Regions from separate parts of the Homo sapiens genome. Here all the other regions are linked to region 2. Evidence: promoter capture Hi-C in 16 types of primary human blood cells and fetal thymus (Javierre and others, 2016). All regions are on one chromosome and are shown on one strand. Each heading gives the region's core, a stretch centred on a gene start or on the middle of the fragment in contact. The rest is flanking DNA. Distances are from core to core; before and after follow the strand shown.

What was found. Contacts are between HindIII fragments. The CHiCAGO score rates a contact against its expected background, and 5 or more counts as called.
Region 1: a contact is called between a fragment that was not itself captured here and the fragment with the promoter of PRDM16 in region 2, in 3 of 17 cell types (megakaryocytes, M0 macrophages and M1 macrophages). The highest score is 8.6, in megakaryocytes.
Region 3: a contact is called between a fragment that was not itself captured here and the fragment with the promoter of PRDM16 in region 2, in 2 of 17 cell types (megakaryocytes and endothelial precursors). The highest score is 7.3, in megakaryocytes.
Region 4: a contact is called between a fragment that was not itself captured here and the fragment with the promoter of PRDM16 in region 2, in 1 of 17 cell types (endothelial precursors). The highest score is 6.2, in endothelial precursors.

The regions. Positions count from the first base shown.
Region 1 is chr1:3,364,772-3,368,011 of GRCh38, reverse strand. The region is part of intron 3 of PRDM16 (PR/SET domain 16); the gene reads right to left. Among named protein-coding and RNA genes, the nearest start is that of ARHGEF16, 88 kb to the left of the region's middle. The HindIII fragment of the contact is 3,111 bases long and covers 163-3,240 here.
Region 2 is chr1:3,067,723-3,070,900 of GRCh38, reverse strand. It overlaps PRDM16 (PR/SET domain 16), which reads right to left and starts at 1,698. Exons shown (of 17, transcript NM_022114.4): 1 at 1,605-1,698. The coding sequence starts at 1,641. It overlaps LOC124903827 (translation initiation factor IF-2), which reads left to right. Exons shown (of 5, transcript XM_047436614.1): 1 at 1-687; 2 at 1,930-2,679; 3 at 2,853-3,178. The coding sequence ends at 1,953. PRDM16-DT (PRDM16 divergent transcript) reads left to right here and starts at 3,176. Exons shown (of 6, transcript NR_015440.1): 1 at 3,176-3,178. It also overlaps the pseudogene LOC100420339. RefSeq lists an enhancer at 2,805-3,178. The HindIII fragment of the contact is 3,548 bases long and covers 1-2,235 here.
Region 3 is chr1:3,403,067-3,406,199 of GRCh38, reverse strand. It overlaps PRDM16 (PR/SET domain 16), which reads right to left. Exons shown (of 17, transcript NM_022114.4): 7 at 1,314-1,461; 8 at 552-705. Among named protein-coding and RNA genes, the nearest start is that of ARHGEF16, 50 kb to the left of the region's middle. RefSeq lists an enhancer at 2,137-2,637. The HindIII fragment of the contact is 6,765 bases long and covers 1-3,133 here.
Region 4 is chr1:3,385,899-3,388,945 of GRCh38, reverse strand. The region is part of intron 4 of PRDM16 (PR/SET domain 16); the gene reads right to left. Among named protein-coding and RNA genes, the nearest start is that of ARHGEF16, 67 kb to the left of the region's middle. RefSeq lists enhancers at 805-1,305, 1,306-1,806. The HindIII fragment of the contact is 1,076 bases long and covers 836-1,911 here.

The DNA of each region.
Region 1 (3,240 bases), core at 469-2,968, 300 kb before region 2:
TCTGTCCCCTCCTCCAGCTCTCTGCAGATGATGACTTTACTTTTACGTTAAGTTGCTTTTGTTTAGTCTTCCTCTCTAAACAACAACTACTTTTAAATGATTTTTTAAAGTACAAAGAGTTAGTTTGATTCTTCCTCAAATGCCTTCTTTTGAAGACAAGCTTGCCTTTTCGATTTCATATCCCATTTAATTAAAACAAAATATAACAGAATCATAACACTGAAAATCAGTGTACTCACTACCGGCTCCATTAATTCTTATCAGTATAAAACATACATTCAGAAGTGTAAGTGCTTTAAAATACACTCCTTCCACTCTTGCCAATATGTTCTATTTATACACGTAGTCTACAGCGGGGAAGAAGTTCTCCTTGTGAACCTAGGGAACCACAGGACCGCACGTGTTTTTGGACAATGGACGCTTGAGCCCGGCACTTTTGAGAGCTGTTGGGCCGGCAGCTGTCACATTCCAGCCACTCCCCAAAAGCCATTTGGCTGTGGGTGCGTTAGGCCTGGGATCAGCTGAAAGGTAGCATCTAGGGGTGTCCCCACCTGGCTCAACCACAGCAAAGAGCTTGAATTCAACTTTCCTCTGCCAGACAAGACCCCTCCCAAGTCACGTCTGCCATGAAACCCGCACACGCTTCCTGTCCAAATGGAGCAGAGACCTCCCCATGGCAGTTATGTTCTTGAGCCGCAAACACTAAAGATGCTTGCTCCATCAATTTTTTTTTTTTTGAGACAGAGCTTTGCTCTTGTTGCCCAGGCCAGGCTGGAGTGCAATGGTGCCATCTCGGCTCGCTGCAACCTTTGCTTCCCGGGTTCAAGAGATTCTCCTGCCTCAGCCTCCCCAGGAGCCGAAATTACAGTGGTCCAACACCACGCCCGGGTAATTTTTTGTATTTTTCGTAGAGATGACGTTTCACCATGTTGGCCAGACTGGTCTCGAACTCCTGACCTCAGGTGATCCACCGGCCTCGGCCTCCCAGAGTGATGGGATTACAGGCGTGAGCCACTGTGCCCGGCCCTTGCTCCATCTTTAACCGGTCGTCAGCATCCTGAAAACAAAGCCTAGCAAAACAAAACACGCACGTGCAGCCCCCTCACTCCCCGGGATGCTACAAAGTTCTCTTTGTGCACTACAGACCGGGTAGACTGACGTGGTGTTCACAGACACGGTTACAGCCTGATGTTATGCAATAGCATGTTAACCACACATTCTAGTAAAAAAATAAAATAAATAATAATAAACATTTGACCTAGAGTAGAGATCTTTCACGAGACGCCCTAATCATTTTTCTGCTCCGACCTCAGTTTTTTCTGGAACTGCTCCAGCAAGCCCAGGGTGGTGCGACGGCCTTTTTCTCTCTGGGAACAAAAGGTCTTTTTTAGTCCTCAGGGCTGTCAAGATTATCCAAATATTCTCAGCTTACTACTAGCCCCTTTCTGAATTGATATTTCCAATAAAAGGACACTTTGTATCTTTAAGCCACACTGGCCCCCGGAGCAGGCTACGGAGGCTGGGAGGCCCGCTGCACAGCCCTGGTCGGCACAGCCTGGGAGATGGGTGGGAAGAGAGTGTCCCGGCATACTGAGCGCGAACAGGCATGGAGGGCCCAGGGCAGGGGACACGGCCGTCCACTTGAGGGGAGAAGGCAGAACCCACAGAGAGTGCGTGCCTTCCCGTCAGGACATCAGCGCGTCCCGGAGTCCTGCTGCACTGGGTCTGATTTTGGCCAAGCCTGTCTAGTCTGCGAGCGGCCGCCAAGCGCATTAAGTCATGGTCGTGCTCAGTGGCAGGAAAGAATTCATTCCAGCCGGACCAAGCTGTGCGAAGCCTGTGTTCTCCGGCTGTCGGCACATCGGGGCGCTAGAGCCCCCCTGAGCCACAGGTCAAGGGTTATTTCTTAGCCTCACCTCTTCGCCATCTTCCCAGACCCTCCCTGGCCCCACAGGCCAGTTCTGTGCGTATGTGGCATGAACATGTATGTGTATGTGTGTGTGCGTGCGCGTATGTGTGCATGTTTGTGTGCGTGTGTGCGTGTGTGTGCATGTGTGCATGCGTGTGCGTTTGTGTGCATGTGTGCGTGTGTGTATGTGTGCATGTGTGTGCACGTGCATCCCTGCGCACATAAACACGTGCAGCTGACAGCCTTCAAAGTCGTCCCTGCAGCCCCACAAAGGGCATTTCCTTCCACCCCAACCTCCTCCAAACGGCTCTGATTAGCACAAATGATAATTCTCATTAATCACCTTTGGCTGCTGCAGAATGGAAACGAGGCCGCGGCGAGGTGACGGGAGCCACTTAGGCGGGATTTATGACCTGTGTGTGCAGTGGCAGCTTCAGGGCCTGACACCTCTGCCTGCAGCTAACATTCAGGGCCGCTGGCTGCCTAGCACAGAGCCCCCAGTATTCCCTCTCCTTGTCTGTTGGCTGACTCTGGGGGCACCACCAACCCCATGGATCACCCCATGGTCCAGAGCTCTTTCAGGTCCTGTGGTGGAATACAGTGGGGCTTTGGGGTGTGGGCCTGCCCAATATAAGGAGGAAGAGGCGGGAGGGAGCACTTGTATTGGCCAGGAGGTCCCCTCCTCACTGCCTCTCCTTCCTTCCCAAACCCAGCCACACGCGCCTTTCCTCTTCCTGACCCTCAGGGGCAGGGACAGCCCCCAGCCCAGGGGTGGGGAACCAGATCTGGCACACGTGTGACACACAGTAGGTGCTTGGTAGGGGTTTGTTGGTGCCACAGCAGGCTGAGTGTGTGGCAGAGGAGGACGGCGGCACAGGGCGCCCAGGGTCACTGCGCCCACCCAAGGCCCCCTGGGCACTGCCAAGCTCCAGGCGGGGGGCCATGCGACCCGACTCCCACTTTCCTGAACAGACCCAAAAGGAACCCACAGTGCCAGCTCCAGGTTGCTGCCCTCGCCCACTGGCCGAGTGGGTCCCTGGCTCAGAGAAACCTATTTTCTCCTGGGGACCCTGGTGCCTTCCCTTCCTTTGCATCCCCTGGGAGGAAACTTCAGGGGCCCAGCACTGGGTAAGGCTTTCCCAGGCTGCACGAGGGAATGAGGGACGGCGTACACACACAGCCCTGGCAGCGTGCAGAAGGCAGCGCTCGCCAGGTGGGAACAGCAGCACCCAGAAACCACAGGGTCCCCGAAAACATGCTGCTTCCTTCCGAAGCAACGTGTCCTGCTCGGGGCACCTGGCTGAGGCTGCGCGGGCCCATGTTGGGCCTCT
Region 2 (3,178 bases), core at 449-2,948:
CGGCAGCGGAGCGCGGCGGGAAGGGGGCGCCTCACCCAGGGGCCGGGAACGGCCGATGGCGGGGCGCAGGAGCGTCCGGCACAAACTCGGGAGCTGCTTTTCCCTGGTGCACAGAGCGCGGGGCCTACGGCCGCGGGGCAGCTGTTGGGACGAGCCGGGCGGGCCCCGAGCCGAGGGAGCGGAGCTTCGGAAAACCGCCGCGAGTCCCGCGCGCACCCGGCTCACGTTTGGGGGCTCGGCCCCGGGAGCTGCGAGGCCGGCCTGGAGGGACCCGGCCCCGGAGGCGCGGACGGAACGGCGTGGGTCGGGCGGGGACCTCGAGGGGAGCGGCCCGGGCGCCTCTTCTGCGGGTGGGCGGGCGGGCGGCCTGCAGAGGAGGGGGCGGCGGGAGCAGGCGGCGCCGATTCCGCTCCGCGCGGCGCTGGCCGCTTCGCTGCAGCCGGGGCTTCGGCGGGGCTGCGGGAGCCGCGCTGGCCGGGCCGCGGCTCCGCCTGTCCTCACCTGCCCGCCCGCCTCACCGCGGATGGCGCCGGCGACCGGGGCTGCGGGGTGCGCGCGGGCTGCTCGGAGGCGCTGTGGCGGGCGAGGGCGCGGGTGGCTGGAGCACCCGGCCCGCGGCAAGGACCGGCTGGCGGCAGGCGGGGCGCGCGGAGCCCGGGGCTCGGCCGAGACGGAGCGAAAGAGAAAGTAAGACCGAGGACCGGGCAGCCTGGCCGGGGCAGCTCTGTCCCCGCCGGGCCCGGCTGTGCCAGGCAAGCGGGTACAGAGGGGTCCACGCGGGCCCGAGGGCGGCAGCGGCGGGTCGGGAGGTGGCCGGGTGGGTCCCTCCTGTCGGAGGCACTGTCGCCCCGGCGGCCCGCGCAGGCTGCCGGCGTCCCAGAGGAGCGCCCTCCACCACGCGGGGCACAGCCGGGGATAAACTTCACGACCACAGTTCCCAGCCCGGGCAAAAGTCTCCATTTTGCTCCCCAAGTGGCTGCGGCTGTCCCGCCGTCGCCACCCCTGCCCCTGCGCCCGCGGAGCCGGGTGGGCGCCGGCCCGCGCCCCCTCCTCCGCCCCTCCCCGGCTCGGGGTCTCCCTCCTCTGCGCCCGGCTGGCGGACGCCAAAGGCGGTGCTCTAGCGCCCACTATTTCAAAAGCCCGGAATATGATTTGACCAGGACTGAGAGCCACTCGGAGAGAGAGAGGGAGAGAGCGAGCGGGGAGGAAAAAGTTGCTCTCCCCTTTCGTCAACTTTTCGCTAACTTTCACTTTTCGCTCCCCTCCACCCCCGGCCCTCCCCCTCCGCCCCCCTCCCCGGCCCCCACCGCGCGCCTCGGGTTCCCGGGCCCGAGCGCCTGACACTGGTGGGGGGGGAGGGGGTTCCGCGGGGAGGGGGCCGGCGCCTTCGGGGAGCGCGCGGCCCGGGCGCCCCGAGCCTCCGCGCCGAGCCCGGTCGCCCCGGAGCGCGGGAGGCGGAGCAGCCCCCCGGGCCGCGCGGCCGAGCCGGGGGCCCGGAGCCGCAGGCGCGCCGGCCGCGCCCCGACGCGCACCCCTGGCCCGGGCGCCCCGGCCCGGCGGCCCGGGCCCCGGCGGCGCGGCGCGGCCGAGCGCGGGAGACTTACTTTTGGCTAGCTTCCTCGCCCTCGCCTTGGATCGCATGGTGTCGGCTCGCGGAATCTCTCTCCTCCTCCTTGAGTCCAGAAGCAGCCACACACTATCTTCATCTCCCCAGCATTGTCAGTTTGGACACCTTCGCACATGCGCACAGAGCACTCAATCTGACACCCCTCGCCGGGGCCAAAAAAACTTTGCAATGTATTCATCATCCTCATCGTCGCGCCGCCGCCGCCGCCGCCGCCGCCTCGGCGCGGGATTGGGGGGCTCTCCTCGGCCTTCTCGGTCTTCGTCTCACTTATCTCTCCCCCCTCTCCCCCCCCCCCTTTTCAGCGCAGCTCGGAACTGGCCCTTTAAGAAAACATTCCGTGTTCGGCGCTCCCGCCCGGGGCCCGCACCCCGGACACTTTAAAAGGACCCAGGTGGCCCCGGAGGCGAGGTGACTATCCCCCCACCCTGCCCCTGCGTCGCGGCGCGTCGCGCTGCTGCTCCCGCCCCAGCCGGGGCCGAAGATGGGGCGGCGGCTGCGGTTTTCCACACGACTTCCTTGGATCTCGGGGCACACGCGCCGATAGTTCGGACGCGAGTCCGGGCTGGTTTTGCTCCGTTTTACTGCGTTTGATTACTAATTTAAAAGCTTTGCGTTCCCCGTCGCCCCGGCCCGCTTTTCTCCTGCATTCTCCCCTCGGCCCCCGTCCCCGCCCTGCGATCGCTGGAGGGGGCGTCGGGGCTCGCGCGCCAGAACCCGGCTCCTCCGAAGCCCCCTCCGGGCCCCACCGCCCCCCTCGCGCCTCCCGGCCCCCGCCTCCTCCCCTTCGCCCCCACCCAACGGCTGCTGCTTCGGGCTTCGCGGCTCAAAAACAACAGCGGAGGCGCCGCCAGCTCCGCGCTCCGCCACTGCCCAGGCCGGCGGGCGGCACTCGGACCCGCCGCCCTCGGTCCCTCGCGAGGCCACGGAGGCCAACACGCCTCGCACGGGGGGACAGCGCGGGGGCAGCCGTCCAAACACCAGGCGTCCTCGGCTGGTCGTCCCAGGGCGCCCGCACCTCTCCGCCCGCGCTCTCCTGCCGCCGCGCCCCCAAGGTGAGTACCCGGCTGCGCGAGCGCCCGAGCTGGGCCACCTTCGGGGACCCGGGCCACTGGGGACACTCCCCTCTGGCCTCTCGGGGCCCAGGTGCGTAGCGGGCGGAAAGGCCAGCGGCGCAGGTGGAGCAGCTCGGACGGGAGCCGACCAGACGCTTCCTCTTCCCCTGTAGCCCCCAAACTCCGAGGCGCTGCGGCGGAGGGGCCGGGCTGAGCGCAGGCAGGGTGGCCCGGGCCCAGGAGCCTGACGGCCTGAGTGCGGATTTCTCATCTGAGTATCTGGGAATCGAGAATGAATTGGAAGGAAACCGAGGCGCTGCCCTGGCCAGGTTGCTGCCCCGCACCCTTCCGGAGCACCGAAGTCCTGCCCGGCAACGGGACTTGGAGCTGCCGCAGAGTCAGCCTGAGCCCGAGGCAGGGGTCGCGCCCGCGATGCGGGGTCTCTGCGCCGCCCCGCGAGGCTCCTGGCCTTGCCCTCCCTGCCCTTTGTTGTGTAATA
Region 3 (3,133 bases), core at 422-2,921, 340 kb before region 2:
CTGTCTCCTCCCATTGGTGTGCGAGCCTCCTAAAGACAGCTGGTCTTTTATTCAGGGCTGGCCCCCGCACTGGAACAGCACTGGGCACAGACAGGGCCCCCTAGAGACACCGCCCTGACAATCCCAGTGGGTGTCTGCTGAGACTGTCACGTGCAGGGCAGCACAGAAGCACGCCCTTCTGGAGCTCGGCACAGGTGGGGAGTGAGTTCGGGGGACGGGAGTAGCAACAGGGAGGGAGGGTCCAGCTCCTTCTGCAGGACCCTGGTCCCTCCCATCACCCACTGCCCCCCTCCAGCCCCTGTGAGGTGAAGCAAGGGGAGCCGTGGAGGAGGACGGGATGGGGAAGGGGAGCAGTGAGGGACAAACTCAGAGGGTGCCTGCCGGGGACCAGGCTGCACGCGGCAGAGATGTCAGAACCTGCCATGAGTGCTTTATGAACAAACTGGGGCCCCTCGGATCGGGGGAGACCTTGGGGGATGGCCCACCTCGGCCCGACCGCCACGGCATCCGCGCACCCGGAGGGCAGGCGGCCAGGCTGGGCGACCACTCACATATGAAAGGCTTCACCGTGCTGTGGATATGCTTGTGCTGCTTGAGGCCGGAGGACGTGGCGAAGGTCTTCCCGCAGTCGGGGCAGGCGTGGGCCCGAGCGCCCACGTGCTGCGAGCGGATGTGCCGCTGAAGGTTGCTGGGGTCCGTGAACACCTGGGGAGACGGATGCCGTTGGCGCGTGCCCTGCCTGGACACCCGCCTTGGCCTGGTTCTGGCTGGCGGACCAACCGGCTGTGGGGGGCAGGGCCCTGCCTGTCTCTCTTGCCACGTTGCAGTCTGCACCAAGCAGGCCGGGACAGGTCTCTGTGTAGCAAGGACCCGCTGCAGGGCCTTAAGTGAGCCGCAGAGCCTCCCCGGCTGCTTTCCTCAAGAACAATTCCTGAACTGAGGCTGCGTGAGACAGGGCTGCAGAAAGCGTTTTCAGCTGTGGTGCTGAGACCCTGGCGGGCTCGGGGTGGAGGCTCGGCTCAGCCCCGCCAGCCTCTTCCTTCCACACCGGCGGGAGGACAGGAGCCGCGCTCTGGAGGGGCCTGGGTTCTGGTCTCGGCCCTGATCCTTCTGACCTGGGGGACACGGTCTTCCCTGAGACTTCCTTTCCTTCCTAGTCACACGGAAGGGCCCGAGCCACCGCAGGGGCCTCCTACCCACTCTGCCGCACTCCATCTACATTTGGACCAGGGGGTGTAGGGAGCACGGGGGCGGGCGCCCGTCTGCAGCCTCCTGCTGCCCCGGGGCTGAGACGGGGCCGCCCCGCAGGTTACCTTCACGCAGTTTTCACATTCGAAGCGTTTGCCGCTGTCGTGGGACATCTGGTGGCGGATGAGGTTGGACTTCCAGTTGAAGGCCTTGGGACACTGGTCGCATTTGTACTCGCGCTCCTCCGTGTGGATGACCATGTGCTGCTCCAGGCTGCGCAGAGGACGAGGCTCACTGCGGGGCCCGACTACCTGCCCTCTGCCCGGGAGGGGACCCCAACCATACAGCTTGTTCCCAGTGCCCCTTCGGAGCCCCCACCACGCTGCCGAGGGATCAGAGCACATGCTGGTGTCTCCCTGCCCACCTCCTCTCTGCCGTGGCCGGGCTGTGAGGGGCAGAGGCGGCCTTCCCCTAGCAGATGGGGAAGCCGGCACCTGGATGGTTCCATCCCTCACCCAAGACCACCCCCAGGGCGGCTGGAGGCAGTGCCGGACCCCGGCCCACACTCCCTGGGTGCCTCTCAAGCTGGTCCTGGCCTTGCAGCTAGGCTTGGGCCTAAGAAAAAAGGGGTTCAACACTGGCATGAACCCAGGAGTGGGGCAAGTCCCCCAAACCCAAGGATGCCCCTCTGAGTGCTGGGCACACACCGAGGACGCAGGTCGGGAGTCACTCGGGGGTCTCCAGGTGACACGGAGGGGACCCGAGCACAGCTGCTCGGAGGGGCCGCTGCACTTGGATGAAGGAGTCGCTCTAATTCCCTGCTCTTGGGGGACCCCCGGCTTCCCTTGTCCCAGGGATGACCGTTAATCTTCATGAGCAAAGCAGTGATATATCACGGCTCGTTAATTACGGGGCCCAGCCATCCATTCAGATCAGAAACGCCTGGTTCCCGAGCATCAGGAGACTGTATCTTTTCCCCCGTTGTTAATTGTGATTTATGTGTTTATGTAAAGAAAACACGGACCCTCTTGAGCGGCGTTTACTGGGAAGGGCCGCAGTTGGGATTTGCCCAAACGTTTATTTTCTCAGTCATCTGTTCCGGGTGGAGGGTTTGCCGTCCCCAGGGAGCGGTGCGGGGATGGGCGGTAATCCCCAGCAATCACATAGCCGGTTAGTGGCCTGATGGGCTTTGCTCTGACTTTGCGAGGCTGTCCTGGAGGAAATCCTCAAAGGCAGGAGGAGGGGCCCAGGTTGGAAAAGTCTCCATAGCTCCTTACAGCACTGGACTGAATGTCCTGGTTTCACTCCCCACAGAGACCAGGAATCTTGTCTTTCCCGGGGGCCACAGGTCCCCAAGGCCGCCCAGGCCCCAGATGCTGGCTCCTGCCTGGTCTCAGGGCAGGGGAGGGCCACCGTGGGCCCGCTCATGTCTCTGAAGCCCCTCCTGGGACAGTCCGCTGCCACCTGGTGGGGAGCAGGGCTGGTGCCTTGGGGATAGGGGTGACCCCTTCTGGCTCTTGCCTACCATCTGAGAAGGAGCTGCTCGTGTGTCCGGAGGGTGGGGCCACCATGAATCCCTTGGTGGTGGGTGCTGCCACCCCCATCCCGGTCTGGGACCTTATTACAGAAGTAGCCTTGGGCTTAGCGGCTGCAGGTCTGGGCTCTGGCCTGAGTTTTTCTCCTTTCTAGTTTCTCCCCGCAGCGCAGCCCTGGCAGGCAGGGCCATGAGCCTAGGAGGTGGCTTTCTGGGGCCAGGACATTTGCGGTCGGAGCCAGGGGACACCTGCGGCTCTGGCCACGGGATCCTGCACCTGCTCTGCCCGCAGCGCCAGTGTCCCAGAAGGGGCACATATCCCCAGGGTGTGTCCCACCAGGGGGCCCTTTGTCTACACCTGTTGGGGGGCGAGGCGGGGGAAGGGAGGGGAGGAAGACTCAGAGGAGGGCA
Region 4 (3,047 bases), core at 124-2,623, 320 kb before region 2:
CATCAGCTAGAGCGCCAGTACACTGCATGGAACCATGAGGGATGCGGGGGTGGCGTCTGCCCCCAGACCCCATCTGAATGCACAGCAACCCACATCCAGTGAAGGCCAGGAGGAGCCCGGGATGGGCTGAAGGAGGTGTGTGACTCCCCCGCCTCCAAAGTGCCCCTAAAGTGTGGGTCTCACCCCAAGGACATAGGAGCACCCTGGAGGCCAGGCCCCAGAGTTTGCTTAAGTCCTGGCTGCCAGTAGCAGGAGACTCGGGGAAAGCCCCAGCCTGGGTCCCCATCTGAATATCGACCTGAGTTTTCAGTTCAGAGCGGCCTCTCTCCTCAGCCCAGTAGAGGAGCTCATCTCTTCTGGGAGGCTGTGGCTTCCAGAACTTTCTTTTTAGGACGTTTACACTGTCTTCTGCCCTAGTCTCCTTTTTCCTTTGAAAATGGGGGCTGAGGTCACATGTCTTGAACCTCAAAATGATGGTGATGCTTTTCTGACCGAAGTATTTTCCCTGCCGAATACCATTTGGCAAACTCGACGTTGTTTTACGGAGCTCGGATGTTCAGATATGGTTCCTTCCCTTCTGTGTCTGTGCTGTATTAGAGGTGGGGGTGTGTGTGCAATCTTGAAAGAGAGAGACAGAGAAAGAGAGAGACAGAGAAAGAGAGAGGGAGAGAGAGAGGGGAAGGGAGGAAGATTGTTCACTTGTGTGTGTTTGTGTGTGGGGATGGTGTTCGTAAGTACCAGGAAATCCTGGTGGAACTCCTGGCATGGTGGAAATCTGAGAAATGGCATTAGTATCATGTGATGTTTCCTTCTCAAAGAGAAGTTGTTAAAAGCTTTTAAAAAATTCTTGGCTTTATTAATATTTCAGGGCAGTTTTTATTTTAGCTCCGCATAGGGTCAAATAGGTTGCTTTGCAGGAACCCACGTTCCCGTGGTCAAGGCCAGGGAATGGAAATGCTTTCTGCCGAGGCCGTGCGGCCGTCACAGCCGTCACAGCGCGCGAGAGGGCATTTAAACACTAGATTGAAATCTATTATATCCCTTTCAAAAGGCATTGCTAAAAGTCATGTCCTATGAGAGTCTATGGGTTTCTGAGAGCAGTTTTTCATATTTGTAGTGTTTAAATCTTATTATTATTCAAAGGAAAATACATTCCACACAATGCTCATTTTCGTTTGATAACTGAAATTCACGGTTGAGATTTCAGGAGAAGAAGCTGCCAACTCAGCCACCTCACTCCCCGTGCCTGGGCGGCGAGTCTCCTCCAGCCTCTGGCCGGCTCCTGCTTTCCCGGGCATTCCAGCCACATGGCTTATCCAGCTCGGAGGTGCACCTTTGCGGGGACATGGGCAGGAGCGTCGGTGGCCCTGTAACACCCGACGTCACCGGCTGTGCTACCTATGAGGGGTGCTCTCAAGAGCAGAGGGCTCCTCTCCCTGTCGGAGGGGAAGGTCTCACAAGGGGGTTGAGGGGGTCGGAAGTGCCCCGAGTGGAGGAATTTCTCTCTGCTTTGGGCCATTTTGGTGTTGCATTTGCTTAAATGTGCATTTCGAGTTCCCTCTGGGTTTGTGGCTTTAATTCAGCCTATGGACCTAAAACAGAGAGAACGAATCCCTTGAGGCGGTGTTGGAGAGAGCCATCTAGCAGGTCAGGAGGTATCTGAGGAGTTTTGACATTATCTGTGGTTTGGGTAATAGCGCCAAGTATGTTTCTGACTCTAGGACGGAGCTTTGGAGGAAGTCGGCACTGTGGGATGACGGTGGGGTAAAGGGAAGGAACGGATCAGGATTCAGGATCATTCTTCCATCCTGGCAAAAAGGATTTCTGCCCCCTGGTCCTGACCATGGAAACACAGTTGGCTGCAAAGCAGTCCATTCCTTTTGGACCTCATGTGTAGCTAAAAGGAAAGCTTCCCCGAAATATTAATAATACAATGAAGATTTTTTTAAAGACAGGCTTCTCTTTGAGATTACACGTTTGTTTTTTAAAAAGCTAGACACATAAAGATACCCACTTTACCGCTTAAGTTTAGTTCAAAAGTTCTAATAAACATTTATTTCTTAAATAAAAAAAATCTGGGCCCTTCATTACTATAGTTTGCATCTCACAAAAGCACAGCCCTGGCCCAGCCCCGCGGTGCCCCTGCCCGTCAGCTTCCCAACGGACGACTAAGGACACACTCTGCAAATCTGAGCCCCAGAAGGGGACGGAAAGACCGTCCTTCTATGCGCCTCAAGCCCAATTTTCCTTCACTCCAATTTCACTTTCATCTGGAAGAAAGAAAAAAATTTTTTTAAGTTCTGCTCTTATGTTTATGATTATTCTTTTGCTTCATCTCTGTATTTTTTTTTCAATCAGAAAAAGTTATTTTAAACATTTTTGGCTCTAACTGAAGGCCACGGAAGTCCTGGTAGTAGCGTAGATTCATGTCCCCATCCAGAACGAGCTTGTCCAGCGGAGCAACTGCTCGATGGAGATTCTGCTCCACAGCCAAGGGGACGGCAAATGAGGGAGAGCCCCTGGCAGCCAGCCGGGGCCTGCGGGACCTCCCTGGAGTTTGCTCTGTGCATTTCTTAATGCAAAATTGTTTCTGTAAAGTCGAGAGCCTTGAATCACTTTCAATGGCTTGCACAGGCTACGCGGGAATGTTCCGTGACGTGGTCTTCACACACATTTTTCACAGCCATGGGATCCTTTTCTTTTTTTTCAAATGAAATCTCATGTATGACCCCAAGATATTACAGGAAAAACCAGACTACTGTGATGTAAGGGGCCGGGGACCCCGGGCACCCCGGGCACCCCGAGGAACGCACGGTGTTCAGGATGCAGGCGGAAAGTGCCGCCCGGGAGGCCTGGCTTGAGAGTGAGAAGGGCCTCCAGGGGCCACTCGCAAGCTTGAAATAGAGAAATCCATGAAGCAGCGACCAGCTCTGGGGACACGGTGCCTTCTGGAGTGGAAGGAGACTCCGCGTCTTCTCCCCTGATCAGCCTGTGGGTCTGGATGCCTGTTCTGGTGGTGGTGTGGACCAGCCGTGGAGGTCAAGGAT